2 separate regions of the Homo sapiens genome follow, and region 1 is linked to region 2. The links are contacts of gene promoters, found by promoter capture Hi-C in blood cells and fetal thymus (Javierre and others, 2016). All regions are on one chromosome and are shown on one strand. The core of a region is centred on a gene start or on the middle of the fragment in contact, and the rest is flanking DNA. Distances in the headings are between cores, read along the strand shown. Region 1 overlaps GLYR1 (glyoxylate reductase 1 homolog). Region 2 holds the start of ZNF500 (zinc finger protein 500).

The links. Contacts are between HindIII fragments. The CHiCAGO score rates a contact against its expected background, and 5 or more counts as called.
Region 1: a contact is called between a fragment that was not itself captured here and the fragment with the promoter of ZNF500 in region 2, in 6 of 17 cell types (erythroblasts, megakaryocytes, endothelial precursors and 3 more). The highest score is 11.0, in erythroblasts.

What each region holds. Positions count from the first base shown.
Region 1 is chr16:4,815,078-4,821,300 of GRCh38, forward strand. It overlaps GLYR1 (glyoxylate reductase 1 homolog), which reads right to left. Exons shown (of 16, transcript NM_032569.4): 10 at 2,521-2,620. Among named protein-coding and RNA genes, the nearest start is that of ROGDI, 16 kb to the left of the region's middle. The HindIII fragment of the contact is 2,515 bases long and covers 2,407-4,921 here.
Region 2 is chr16:4,765,912-4,772,423 of GRCh38, forward strand. It overlaps ZNF500 (zinc finger protein 500), which reads right to left and starts at 1,251. Exons shown (of 6, transcript NM_021646.4): 1 at 1,106-1,251; 2 at 1-165. The coding sequence starts at 67. RefSeq lists a silencer at 998-1,297 and an enhancer at 2,490-2,569. The HindIII fragment of the contact is 2,671 bases long and covers 1,064-3,734 here.

The sequences.
Region 1 (6,223 bases), core at 2,414-4,913, 52 kb after region 2:
CTTCTGGAAGTGCCTAAAAACACTACCATTTTGGCTTTTTTTTTTTGAGACAAGGTTTTGCTCTGTCACCCAGGCTGGAGCACAGTGGTGCAATCATGGCTCACTGCAGCCTCAACCTCCTGGACTCAAGTGATCCTCCTGCCTCAGCCTCCTGAATAGCTGGGACTATAGGTGCATGCCCCATGTGTGATTTTTTTTTTTTTCTGTAGAGACAGGGTTTCACCATGTTGCCCAGGCTGGATGGGCCTACTATTTTCTATCAGACTTTTAATGTTGTTTATGATTCACATTTATCTATATTGTTGTCTTTCATAATTCTGGCATAATTATGGTTTATAGTGGTTGACTATGGAAAACTTCACTGAGAGATATACTGTGATTTACCTAATGGCTGACCTGTAGTTTGACACTTAGCCCACTTTCAATTGTAAAATCACATCACCAAACATCTTTACGTACAAAACTTCTCTATGTTTTAAATTCAGGTCTCCACAAATAGAATAAAACAGGTTCTAAAAGTTTTAAGGCTCTCAACAAATGTAGACAGATGACTTCCCAATGAGACTATGTCACTTCATAAAGATCACCAGCAAGCTCTCCTATTATGCCAGTACCAAGTATGTAATTTAAAAACTACAAATAAGTGCCCATAAATACATGTAAAATTCTTCCTACCTGATCATTTAACCAGTCAAAAAAGGCAACTGTTTCATTTTTTTTTTTTGAGACAGAGTCTCGCTGTCGCCCAGGATGGAGTGCAGTGGCACGATCTCAGCTCACTGCAAGCTCTGCCTCCCAGGTTCACGCCATTCTCCTGCCTCAGCCTCCCGAGTAGCTGGGACTACAGGCGCCCGCCACTGTGCCCGGCTAATTTTTCGTATTTTTAGTAGAGACGGGGTTTCACCGAGGTCTCGATCTCCTGACCTCGTTATCCCCCAGTCTCTGCCTTCCAAAGTGCTGGGATTATAGGCATGAGCCACCGCACCCGGCCTTGTTTGATATATTTTAATTACTCCTGATTACCGAATATTTTTTATGCCTTTGTTTCCTCTTTTGTGAGCCATTTTTTTGTCCTTTTTCTTTTCTGAGACAGGGTCTTGCTGCTGCCTAGGTGGGAATGCAGTGGTATGATCACAGCTCACTGCAGCCTCTACCTCCTGGGCCCAAGAGATCTTCTGGCCTCAGCCTCCCAAGTAGCTGGGACTATAGTAGGCAGGTGCCACCTCACTCAGCTAATATTTTATTTTTTGTAGAGATGGAGTCTCATGTTGTCCAGGCTGGTCTCAAATTCCTGGACTCAAGCAATCCTCTTCCCTCAGCCTCCCAAGGTGCTAGGATTATAGGTGTGAGCCTATTCTTAGATCTAAAATTATTAATTAGCACCCTACTAATTTTTTTGTCTTAATTATCAAACTATGTTTAATAAAAGCAACATATTACCCTTCTTACGTATTTGCTACAAGTACTTCTAGTTGGTATTCCTTTGAATTTTATTTTTTTGTTGTTGGGGAGTATTATCAAAAAAAATCAACTGATCTTCTTGTGTGATTTTTATTAGTTCTAGATTTACAAAGATCTATGTTAGTATTTATTTTCTTCTGGTTTTCTTTTAAAAAATTACTTGTGGGCCAGGCACAGTGGCTCACACCCGTAATCCCAGTATTTTGGGAGGCCAAGGCGGGTGGATCACCTGAGGTCAGAAGTTCGAGACCAGCCTGGCTAACATGGTGAAACCCCTTCTCTACTAAAAATACAAAAAATTAGCCAGGTGTGGTGGCGCGCGCCTGTAATCCCAGCTACTTGGGAGTCTGAGGCAGGAGAATCACTTGAACCTGGGAGGTGGAGGTTGCAGTGAGCCGAGATTGTGCCATTTTTTTTTTTTTTTGAGACGGAGTCTTGTTCTGTTGCCAGGCTGGAGTGCAGTGACACGATCTCAGCTCACTGCAACCTCTGCCTCCCACATTCAAGTTATTCTCCTGCCTCAGCCTCCTGAGTAACTGAGACTACAGGTGAACGCCACCATACCCAGCTAATTTTTGTATTTTCTATTTTTTTTTTTTGAGACGGAGTCTTGCTCTGTCGCCCAGGCTGGAGTGCAGTGGCGCGATCTCGGCTCACTGCAAGCTCTGCCTCCCGGGTTCATGCCATTCTCCTGCCTCAGCCTCTGGAGCAGCTGGGACTACAGGTGCCCGCCACCACGCCCGGCTAATTTTTTGTATTTTAAGTAGAGACGGGGTTTCACCGTGTTAGCCAGGATGGTCTCGATCTCCTGACCTCATGATCCGCCCGCCTCAGCCTCCCAAAGTGCTGGGATTACAGGAGTGAGCCACCGCGCCAGGCAAATGTTTAGGTTTTATAATAACATCCTAAGTTTAGGCATCTACATCTCTACCTGCCTGGACTAAAAGCTTGGCTTCTATTCTATTGCACGCAGAACGCTGAGACAACAGGGGGAGATGTCCACTCTTAGGGTTACCCCAGACTCCACCGATCCAACAGGCACCACCCCTGAATGCTTACTTTCTCTGCAGTGCGGTTCCAGACAGTCACTGTGTGACCCATTTTTAGCAAGTTGGAGACGATTCCACTTCCCATGAGACCAAGGCCCAAAAATCCTATCCTGAAACAGAGAGAGACTGATGAGTTCAGGGTGGAAAGGGAGGGTCACGGTGATGATGATTCCATGCAGCACAAGGCTCGCTCCCTTATACAGCTTGGGGTAGGGGAATTCAGACTGCCAGAAACAGCAGTGGCCAATCTACCTGCAGAGCCAGGGGCGTCATGCACATGGGTCTTCTCTTATGCCATGGTCTAAAGCTGTCCCAGGATGTAAACAGGCATTTTGAAACCCCTGACTGTCACAGAAAAAAGTATGATGTGTATGGTTCAGGGCCAGTCTCCCAGGGCAAAGTCCCCTTGCTGCCCTTTTTTTTTTTTTTGAGACAGTCTTGCTCTGTTCCAGGCTGGAGTGCAATGGCGCGAGCTCAGCTCACTGCAACCTCTGCATCCTGGGTTCAAGCGATTCTCCTGCCTCAGCTTTCTGAGTAGCTGGGATTACAGGCGCACGCCACCATGCCCAGCTAATTTTTGTATTTTTAGTAGAGACAGGGTTTCACCATGTTGGCCAGGCTGGTCTCAAACTCCTGACCTCGTGATCTGCCCACCTCGGCCTCCCAAAGTGCTCGGATTACAGGCGTGAGCCACCATGCCCGGCCTCACACTTTACTTATTTTTTGAGATAGTGTCTTGTTCTGTTGCCCAGGCTGCAGTGTAGTGGTGCAATCATGGCTCACTGCAGCCTCGACCTCCTGGGCTCAAGTAATCCTTCCCCCTCAGCCTCCTGGGTAGCTGAGACTACAGGCATCTGTCAGCACACCTAATTTTTTGTGGAGATGGGCTTTTGCCATGTTACCCAGGCTGGTCTTGGACTCCTGGGCTTAAGGGATCCGCCCACCTCAGCCTCCCAAAGTGCTGGGGTTGCAGGTGTGAACCACTGCACCCGGCTCTGGATACTACTTTAAAGCCCAACAGAATCCACCACAAGTCACTGAAGCACTGTGTTTAGAGCCAGGCAACTTCCTTGACTGCATGAACCAGGACGGCAATTTTCACCTCTCTTTCCCAACTTCAATTCTCTACCCACACCCTACCTTTCCCGTCTTCCCGTTATCAACAGAATGGGCCTTGCCTCTCCTCTCCAAAGCTAAGTCCTTCACCTGAGCTTGGAACCCAATCTTTCCCAGTCCACAAATCCTTCTCCCCATGCCTGCCTTCCCCCAAACCTCTCACTGTTCCCCCAGCCCTTCCTTCCACAGGTCCTTCCCAATCCTTGTGACAGAAGCACTCATTGGCCAGTCTCCTCCACACACATTCACATACTCCGCCTGCTCCTTCCTGCAACCCTGAGAGCTGGGGGCTGGATGCCACTGCTGCTATTTCAACATGCTTTTACGGATGACTTTTAGCTTGCCAAAGTGTCTTTTCTTGATTCTTGTACTTCTTCACCTCTCTTTGCAAGTGACAATGGTGCAAAAGAATGCCTTTCCTCATTTCTGATCATATCATGTTCTTGTTTTTATAGTTTTTAATTTTTATTTATTTATTTATTTAAAAAGAGAGATGGGGGGGTCTTGCTATGTTGGCTAGGCTGGTCTCGAACTTTTGGTATCAGGCAATCCTCTCACCTCAGCCTCCCAAAGTGTTAGGATTATGGGCGTGAGCCACTGCACCCAGCCTTTTTTCTTTTTTTAGTGACAGCATTATGCTGTCTCCCAGGCTGGAGTGCAGGGGGGTGATCATAGCTCACCGCAGCCTCAAACTCCTGGGCTCAAGTGATCCTTCCACCTCAGTCCACCTGAGCAGCTAGGACTATAGGTGCATGCCACCATGTCTGGCTAAGTTTTAAAATTTTTTTGTAGAGACGGGGTCTTGCTGTATTTCCTAGGCTGGTCATGAACTCCTGGCCTCAAGGGATCCTTCTGCTTTGGTCTCCCAAAGTGTGGGGATTACAAGGATGAGCTACTGCGCTTGGCCATGTTTTCAATTCAGAAATTCTCTGACTGCTGGATGTCCCCGGCAGCTCCTCCACTTTGACCCTGTCATTCTTTCCATAGTTTTGGTCTTCTGGAACCATCTCTACAAATGGACCCCTAATCTCAGCTGGAATATCAGCTGCTCACATTCTCCCTGTCCCAGCCTGTATTAAGTAATTTGAATCACATGTTGAAAATGGAACCCACCAACTTTCTCACCAAAATAGACCTCCTTGCTAACTGCTTCAAGTTGTGGCTTAAAAACAAGGAGGTACCTTTTTGTCACTCATTATTTGGGTAGTACAATATTCCCCCATGATTCTAAATCATGACAGGCGAATTCCCTTTCCTTTCTTGGTGTTCTAGGAAGTCCAGTAGACCTGGGATAAAGCTTCTGGATTTTTTTGAGACACAGTCTCGTTCTGTTGCCCAGGCTGGAGTGCAGTGGTGCGATCTTGGCTCACTGCAACCTCCACCTCCCGGGTTCAAGCGATTCTCCCACCTCAGCCTCCCAAGTAGCTGGGATTAAAGGCACCCACCATCATGCCTGGCTAATTTTTGTAGAGACAGGGTTTCACCATGTTGGCCAGGCTGGTCTTGAACTCCTGACCTCAGGTAATCCGCCCACCTTGGCCTCCCAAAGTGCTGGGATAACAGCCATGAGCCACCATGCCCAGGTCAAGGTTCTGGATTTTTAATATGGCAACTGAGAGTCCTTCACACTGTGTCTCAGACAAAATGGAAATGTGGATTAAGGTGGGTTGGGCAACAACAAAACTGGTTGGTTTTGATGCTGGCTTCATACTCTTTTATTAAAAGTTTGACTAATGGGCCAATAAATGTGTTGGGTAAAAACATCAGGACTCTGTCCTCACCCTATCCTGATCATTTTTTTATTTTTATTTTTTTAACACAATCCTCCTCCCCTTTGTTTGCACCTAATATGCCCTTATCTCCTCCACTCTACAGAGACAAGTTCACCAAAAATAACTGGTAGCATTAGTGATTTAAACAGTACAAAAATATCATGTAAAAGATGCACTGTTTTTAGTCTGGGGAAGACCATGTGAAAGGTACAAACTGGAAACTGACTTTAGCTAACTTGCTCCAGAGAACGTGTTTTCCTAGAAAAGGTATCTTTTTGCCAACAAGACTCTGCGGAGGAGACATGCCTACAGAGCAGGCACAGAGGCAAGGCTGGGCGCAAGTTGGGTCTGGGAGCATGTCCAGGATCGCCCCACCCACACCGGGCAGGGTGCAGGACAGCCAGCAAGTGCTCAGTGAGGATCCCCAAGCACTTTCATCTCCCTTCCCCCACCTGCCCCACCATGGCCAATTTTGGGGCCTCATCATGATTCTACTCAGCCAGTGGTTCTCACAGCGTAGCTCTGACCAGCAGCAGCAGTATACCTGGGAACTGGTTAAAAATACAAATTCTTGGGCCCCACCCGGACATATTGACTGAGAAGCCACCTTCCAGGTGACTGTCAGGCACAGGAAAGTCTGAGAACCACTGAGCCAAGTGCTCCTTGCTCTTGAGTTCTGGAGCCAAAAAAATCCCTCAGCTTATGCCCAAGGGAGACCCGACCACAGATTTACACAGCTTTTGACTCCTGTCTTTATCGATAAGAGTTACAACATCCCCCCACCTTTTCCATTCAATGCCAGCAATGGCTGGGACACAACCCTTA
Region 2 (6,512 bases), core at 1-2,500:
GGATCTCTTCCTGTTCCAGGTCCTGCTCCAAGGTTGGCAGGGGCTGGAGGCCAGGGACAGTGGCCATTGCTTCCGGTGGGCCTTGTTCCTTTTCAGGCCTTAGAGTTGAACCTGTCTCTCTCTATACCTCTGGCCAGACACAGGAAGAGAGTTTTTTTCAGGGCCCTGTGGAGAGACGATAAAACCATCTGAAGGGCAGCCCTGGGGCTGGATAAGCCCTTTGGCCTGGGAAGCCCCTGCCCTGGTTCCAAGGCCAGCTCACCCCACCATGGAAAAGGAAAAGGAAGTGGATGAATGTCATCTTTGTTATTAACCCCCTGTTAATTCCCGGGTAATTTACTGAAGGGCTCTGGGCTTTGCTTCCTCACTGGGCAAACAGAGATGATAACAGGACCTACACACACAGGTTGCTGACAGAACTAAAAGGGATGGCTGGGGGCAGTAGCTGACGCCTGTAATCCCCGCACTTTGGGAGGCAGAGGAGGGCAGATCACGTGAGTTCAGGAGTTGACCACCTGGTCAACGTGGTGGAACCCTGTCTCTACAAAAAATACAAAAATTAGCCCGACATGGTGGTAGCACATCTGTAATCCCAGCAACTCGGGAGGCTGAGACAGGAGAATCGCTTGAACCCGGGAGATGGAGGTTGCAGTGAACTGAGATAGCGCCACTGCACTCCAGCCTGGGCGACAGAGAGAGACTCAAACAAAAACAATCTAAAAGGGATGTTTGCGGTCAGAGCTCGAGAATCGTTATTTTCCATGATTAGAGTGGGTCCTATATGGAAGGGGTTCCTTTGGAAATCTGATGAAAAGTAGGGCCTTTCTGCAGACTCTGCCTCAACTTGATCCCCGGTGTCCAGGTCTGGCGAACCCTGAAGCCCCTACGCGGCCCCGTCAGGCACCCCCGCGTGGGTGGTCACGACAGCCCCCCAATTCCAGGGTCCTGGGAGAGCTGGGACCCCCAGGCCGGGCTGCTTTCCCGTCTCATCCCTCAGGTGGAGGGTGAGCGGTACCCGAGGCCGCGGCACAGACCCGGGTGCTGGCGCGGGCCGCGAAATCGAAGCTTCGGCCGGGACCCGCGTCCCCGCGCCCCCCGCACTCACTGGAAGCGCTGCCGGCCGTGGGCAGTTCGGGGCAGGACCGGAGCGGCGGGTCTCGGCGGGAGTAGGACTGCGGGCCTCAGGCTTGGCAGCCAGGGACGCCAGAGCCGGGGCCGAAGACCCTAAACCAGGGGTGCAAACCAGGCCGTGCGGGTGGGCCCGCAGGCGGCATTGTGGGTAACGTAGCCGTGGCACCATTGGCTAAGCCGGCCGTTGGGGGCGTGGCAACACGGCCGAGTGGGCGGGTCCGCGACGTGCACTGTGGTTAATGTGGTCCTCAAAGGCACGCATTGTGGGTAACGTAGTCCAGCACCTCGGTGACCGCGCGAGCGTGCGGCGACTCTGCAGCCTCTGGGCTACTTTCCCAGTCACTGTTCCACACCCGCTCCGCTCTCCTCTGGCCGCCTCCTCCATCTTTAAAGCCAGCAAAGTCGTCCGGGCACGGTGGCTCACACCTGTAATCCTAGCACTTTGGGAGGCCGACGCGGGCGGATCACCTGAGGTCGGGAGTTCGAGACCAGCCTGACTAACGTGGAGAAACCTGGGCGTGGTGGTTCATGCCTGTAATCCTAGCTACTCAGGAGGCTAAGGCGCAGGTTGCAGTGAGCCGACATCCTGCCATTGTCCTCCAGCCTGGGCAACAAGAGCGAAACTCCATCTCAAAAAATAAATAAATAAATAATAAATAAATAAAATAAATAAAGGCAGAAGTTGTTCAAGATAAAACTGGAAGAGATGCCAAGTGCTTGCGCCCACCCTCCCCCAAGAGGGCCCCCAACAACGTCCAACCCCAAATATCCCTTGTCCTGCCTGCTTCTTTCTGACAACATAATAATGGGCATCAATCTTTGTTGTTGTTGTTAGAGATGAAGTCCCACCATGGTGCCTAGGCTGGTCTCAAACTCCTGGGCCCAAGCAATCTTCCCGCCTCAGCTTCCCAAAGTGTCAGGATTACAGGTGTGCCCAGCCAGGTATCAATTCTTGTATGTATGTATTTATTTATTTAGAGACAGGGTCTCACTCTGTCGCCCAGGCTAGAGTGCAGTGGCTCGACCTTGGCTCACAGCAACCTCCGCCGCCCGGTTTTAAGCAATTCTCCTACCTAACCTCCCGAATAGTTGGGATTACAGGCACGAACCACCAGGTCCGGCTAATTTTTGTATTTTTAGTAGAGATGGGGTTTCCCCATGTTGCCCAGGCTGGTCTCCAACGGCCTCAAGCAATCCACCCACGTCAGCCTCCCAAAGTGCTGAGATTACAGGAGTAAGCCACCGCTCCCGGTCGCATCAATTCTTGAGCATCAAGCAAGCAAAACACATTTGTACTTCGTTTCTTCCTCATTTAGTAATAGAGGTACTATAACTAGACCTACCGGTTCAACAAAACAAAACAAAACCCTGAAGCTCTGAGAGTTTTAAGTATTGAACCCCCCAGAGAAGGTCAAACAGGAAGTACAGAAATGGGATTGGAACCCAAATCTTTGATTCCAGAACTTCAGCTCCTAACTACCAGGTTAACGTAGTTTGCCCCTAATCCTAACTTGGGCATCCTAAGGCCCGTCTCCTATGCTGGATTCTCGCTGCTTTTCCTCTTTGGTTGAACATGATCCGGAGTTTCCCTCTGCCTGGGGTGCCCAGGAAAGAGTCCCAGCACCGAGTTCGGGTGAGCAGCAACGCAGCATACACAGCAGGCGTACACTCAACGTACGCCCCGCCCCGCACAAGCTCCGCCCCGCATGCGCGCCCCGCCTCGCATCCCGGATCTACCCCCGGAATCTCGCGCGTCTTTCCCAAAGCATCGGCTAGGACTCAGCCCGCCGGAAACAAATTTGGGGACGCCGGATTCAGGAAGCTGGCAGGACTACATTTCCCAGAGCGCCCCGCGCCCTCCCCGGAGGCAGATTCCTGGGCGCTCTAGAGGGGGTGGGTTGGCGGCCTGGAGGGTCTCCTCAAGTGGCGGCACTGCCAGGGGCTCGGAGGAAGGGGCTGCAGTCTCCCGGTGGCAGCGTCCTTGTCGTCGAGACTGCGGGCGGTTCCCTTGCGCGCCCTGAACCTCAGTTTCCATATCTGTTAATGGGGGACATTAACCCTCAAGGTTGTAACTCATTCAAGACCATTCATCCAGGCATAATAAATGCATAAACGCTGCACGTTGAGTCCTCCCAACTGCCCCCTTAACTAGGCGCTCGGGTGATGGAGTGGTGGCAGGTGCCTGCTTTCATGGAGCTTGCCATGAGAGGCATACAGTGGACAAAATTACCATGAGAGGCATACAGTGGACAAAATTGCACGAAGAATTGTTTAATCACTTCTTTGGCAAATGTTAGCAAGCGGCGTAAAAGAGGGAACCTGATACCTTCAGGGTGGAAGTGACAGTTGAGCAGCCTAGGGTTAACCTGGGGAACCGGTGGGGAGGATTCCAGACAGCAGGAGTGAAAAGTGCAAAGGTCCTGGGGCCGGAGAGAACACGGTGCGTTTGAGGAACAGAATGGAGACCAGAGATTGGGAGATGTGGCTGGAGGGATGGGCAAGGCCTGACCATACTTGGAGACTCTGGTGAGGATTAAGGATTTTATCCTTGGAGTCAATAGAGTTTGGGGTTTTAAGTAGGATAGCATCGTGATCAGATAAGAAGCTTTGTGGAGTACAGATCTCAGAAAGACTGGAGAGGAGCAGTGAGACTAGCTGGAAGCTCCTGGAGTGGTCCAGAGTTGGGGTAACTAGTGATGGTGGTAGTCACTGACAAGGATCTGGCCAAGATTCCTGGAGCACATTCAACAGTGCTTGGTGGTTGATTAGCTTGGGGTGGAGGAGGGAGACAAGGATAACTCCTTTGTACAATGGGGATGGTAACATCACCTGCAGTAGGCACCATTATGGTAAAGAGACAGAACAGAACGTCAGACACATATAGGCTTAATATGTCCTAATTCTGTTAGTAATAAAGACTACCTCTGTGTTCAGGGCAGTGTTGTTTGTAATGGCAAAACCGAAAACAGTCTAAATGTTAGTCAACAGGAGAATGATGGATAAATCTCACGGAGGCTATGCCAAACAAAAAAAGGCAAGTGGCAATATGATACAATTTTCATAAATTTTGAAAATGCAAAACAATTCTACATATGATTTAGAGACATGTATGCGGTTCAAAGAAATGTTTGGGACTTGGATGAACACCAAATTCAGGATGGTGATGGGGCAAACGTTGAAGAGGGATGTGATGGGGGGAAGGTTCAGGGGGCAAAAACTGCAAGTTTTAATGTGCTTTTTATTTATTTTTAATTTATATATTTATATTTTTATATTTATTTATATTTTTTTATTTATTTTTACTTATTTTATTTTTTTTTGAGACAGACTCTCACTGTTGCCCAGGCTGGAGTGCAGTGGCGCAATCTGGGCTCACTGAGACCTCCGCCTCCTGAGTTCAAGCGATTCTCCTGCCTCAGCCTCCCAAGTACCTGGGATTACAGGCATGCACCACCACACCCAGCTAATTTTCGTATTTTCAGTAGAGACGGGTCTTCACCATGTTGGCCAGGCTGGTCTTGAACTCCTGATCTCAGGTGATCCACCCTCCTTGGCCTCCCAAAGTGCTGGAATTATCAGGTGTGAGCCACCGCGCCTGGCCATTAATGTGCTTTTTAAAAACAACAACAAAAGCCATTATTTTGAATTTGTATTCATGAAGTATTAAAACCTACCAAATGTTTTAATAAATAATCTTAAATAGGCCAGGTGCGGTGGCTCACGCCTGTAATCACAGCACTTTGGGAGGCCGAAGCAGGCAGATCACTTGAGGTCAGGAGTTCAAGACCAGCCTGGCCAACATGGCAAAACCCCGTCTCTATTAAAAATACAAAAAATTAGCCAGGCATAGTGGCACACACCTGTAATCCCAGCTACTAGGGAGGCTGAGGTAGAAGAACAGCTTGAACCAGGGAGGCGGAGGTTGCAGTGAGCCAAGATTGCACCACTGCACTCCAGCCTGGGCGACAGAGCCAGATTCCGTCTTAAAAAAAAAAAAAAAAAAAAAGCCGGGCACGGTGGCTCACACCTGTAATCCCAGCACTTTGGGAGGCTGAAGCAGGTGGGTCATGAGGTCAGGAGATCGAGGCCATCGTGGCTAACACGGTGAAACCCCGTCTCTACTAAAAATACAAAAAATTAGCCGGGCGTGGTGGCAGGCGCCTGTAGTCCCAGCTACTCGGGAGGCTGAGACAGGAGAATGGTGTGAACCCGGGAGACGGAGGTTGCAGCGAGCCAAGATCGCGCCACTGCACTCCAGCCTGGGTGACAAAGCGAGACTCCGTCTCAAAAAAAAGAAAAAAGAAAAAAGAAAAATTAGAAGGCCAGGTATGGTGGCTCACACTTGTAATCCTACCACTTTAGGAGGCCGAGGAGGGCAGATTGCTTGAGTCCAGGAGTTCAAGACCAGCCTGGGGCTGGGCGAAACCCCATCTCTACTAAAAATGCGAAAATTAGACAGGCAGGGTAGTACACGCCTCTAATCCCAGCTACTCGGGGGGCTGAGGCAGGAGGATTTCTTGAGCCTGGGAGGCGGAGGTTGTGATGAGCTGAGATTGTGCCACTGCACTCCAGCCTGGGTGACAAAGAGAGACCCTGTCTCAAAAATAAAATAATTAAATCTTCAAAAAGAGCCTCCAGAGGCTGCAGGGCTCTGTAGACACCTTGATTCTGGCCCAGTGATATTGATCTCATACTCCTGACCTCTGGAGCTATAGGAGGATACACGTGTGTTGTTTTAAGCCTCTGCATTTGTGCTAATTTGTTACAGCAGCCACAAGAAGTGAAAACATATGGAATGTAGTGCTCTGGGTGGCCAGGGAGGCTGTTTCCCCTCCTTTACAACACTGGACAGCCTTGGGGGATCCCCTAACACATGCGCATAACAGTTAGTGGTGCACAATGTGGGGGTGCTATGCTTCCCCCAGGGGACACGTGACTTGTCCTGGATAATTTTTTTTTTTTTTTTTTTTTGAGACAGAGTCTTGTTCTGTCACCCAGGCTGGAGTGCAATGGCACGATCTTGGCTCACTGCCACCTCTGCCTCCCGGGTTCAAGCAATTCTCCTGCCTCAGCCTCCCGAGTAGCTGGGATTACAGGCGCCTGCCACCACGTCTGGCTAATTTTTGTATTTTTAGTAGAGACGGGGTTTCACCGTTTTGGCCAGGCCAGTCTCAAATTCCTGACCTCAGGTGATCCACCTGCCTCGGCCTCCCAAAGTGCCAGGATTACAGACTTGAGCCACTGTGCCTGGCCCCAGGATAATTTTTAATTAGCAACAAAGTGAGAGTTGCTACTGGTGTCTGGTGGGTGGAGGCCAGGGATGCTACTAAACATCCTACAGTGTACAGGACAGTCCCCACCACAAAGAATGATCTAGACTG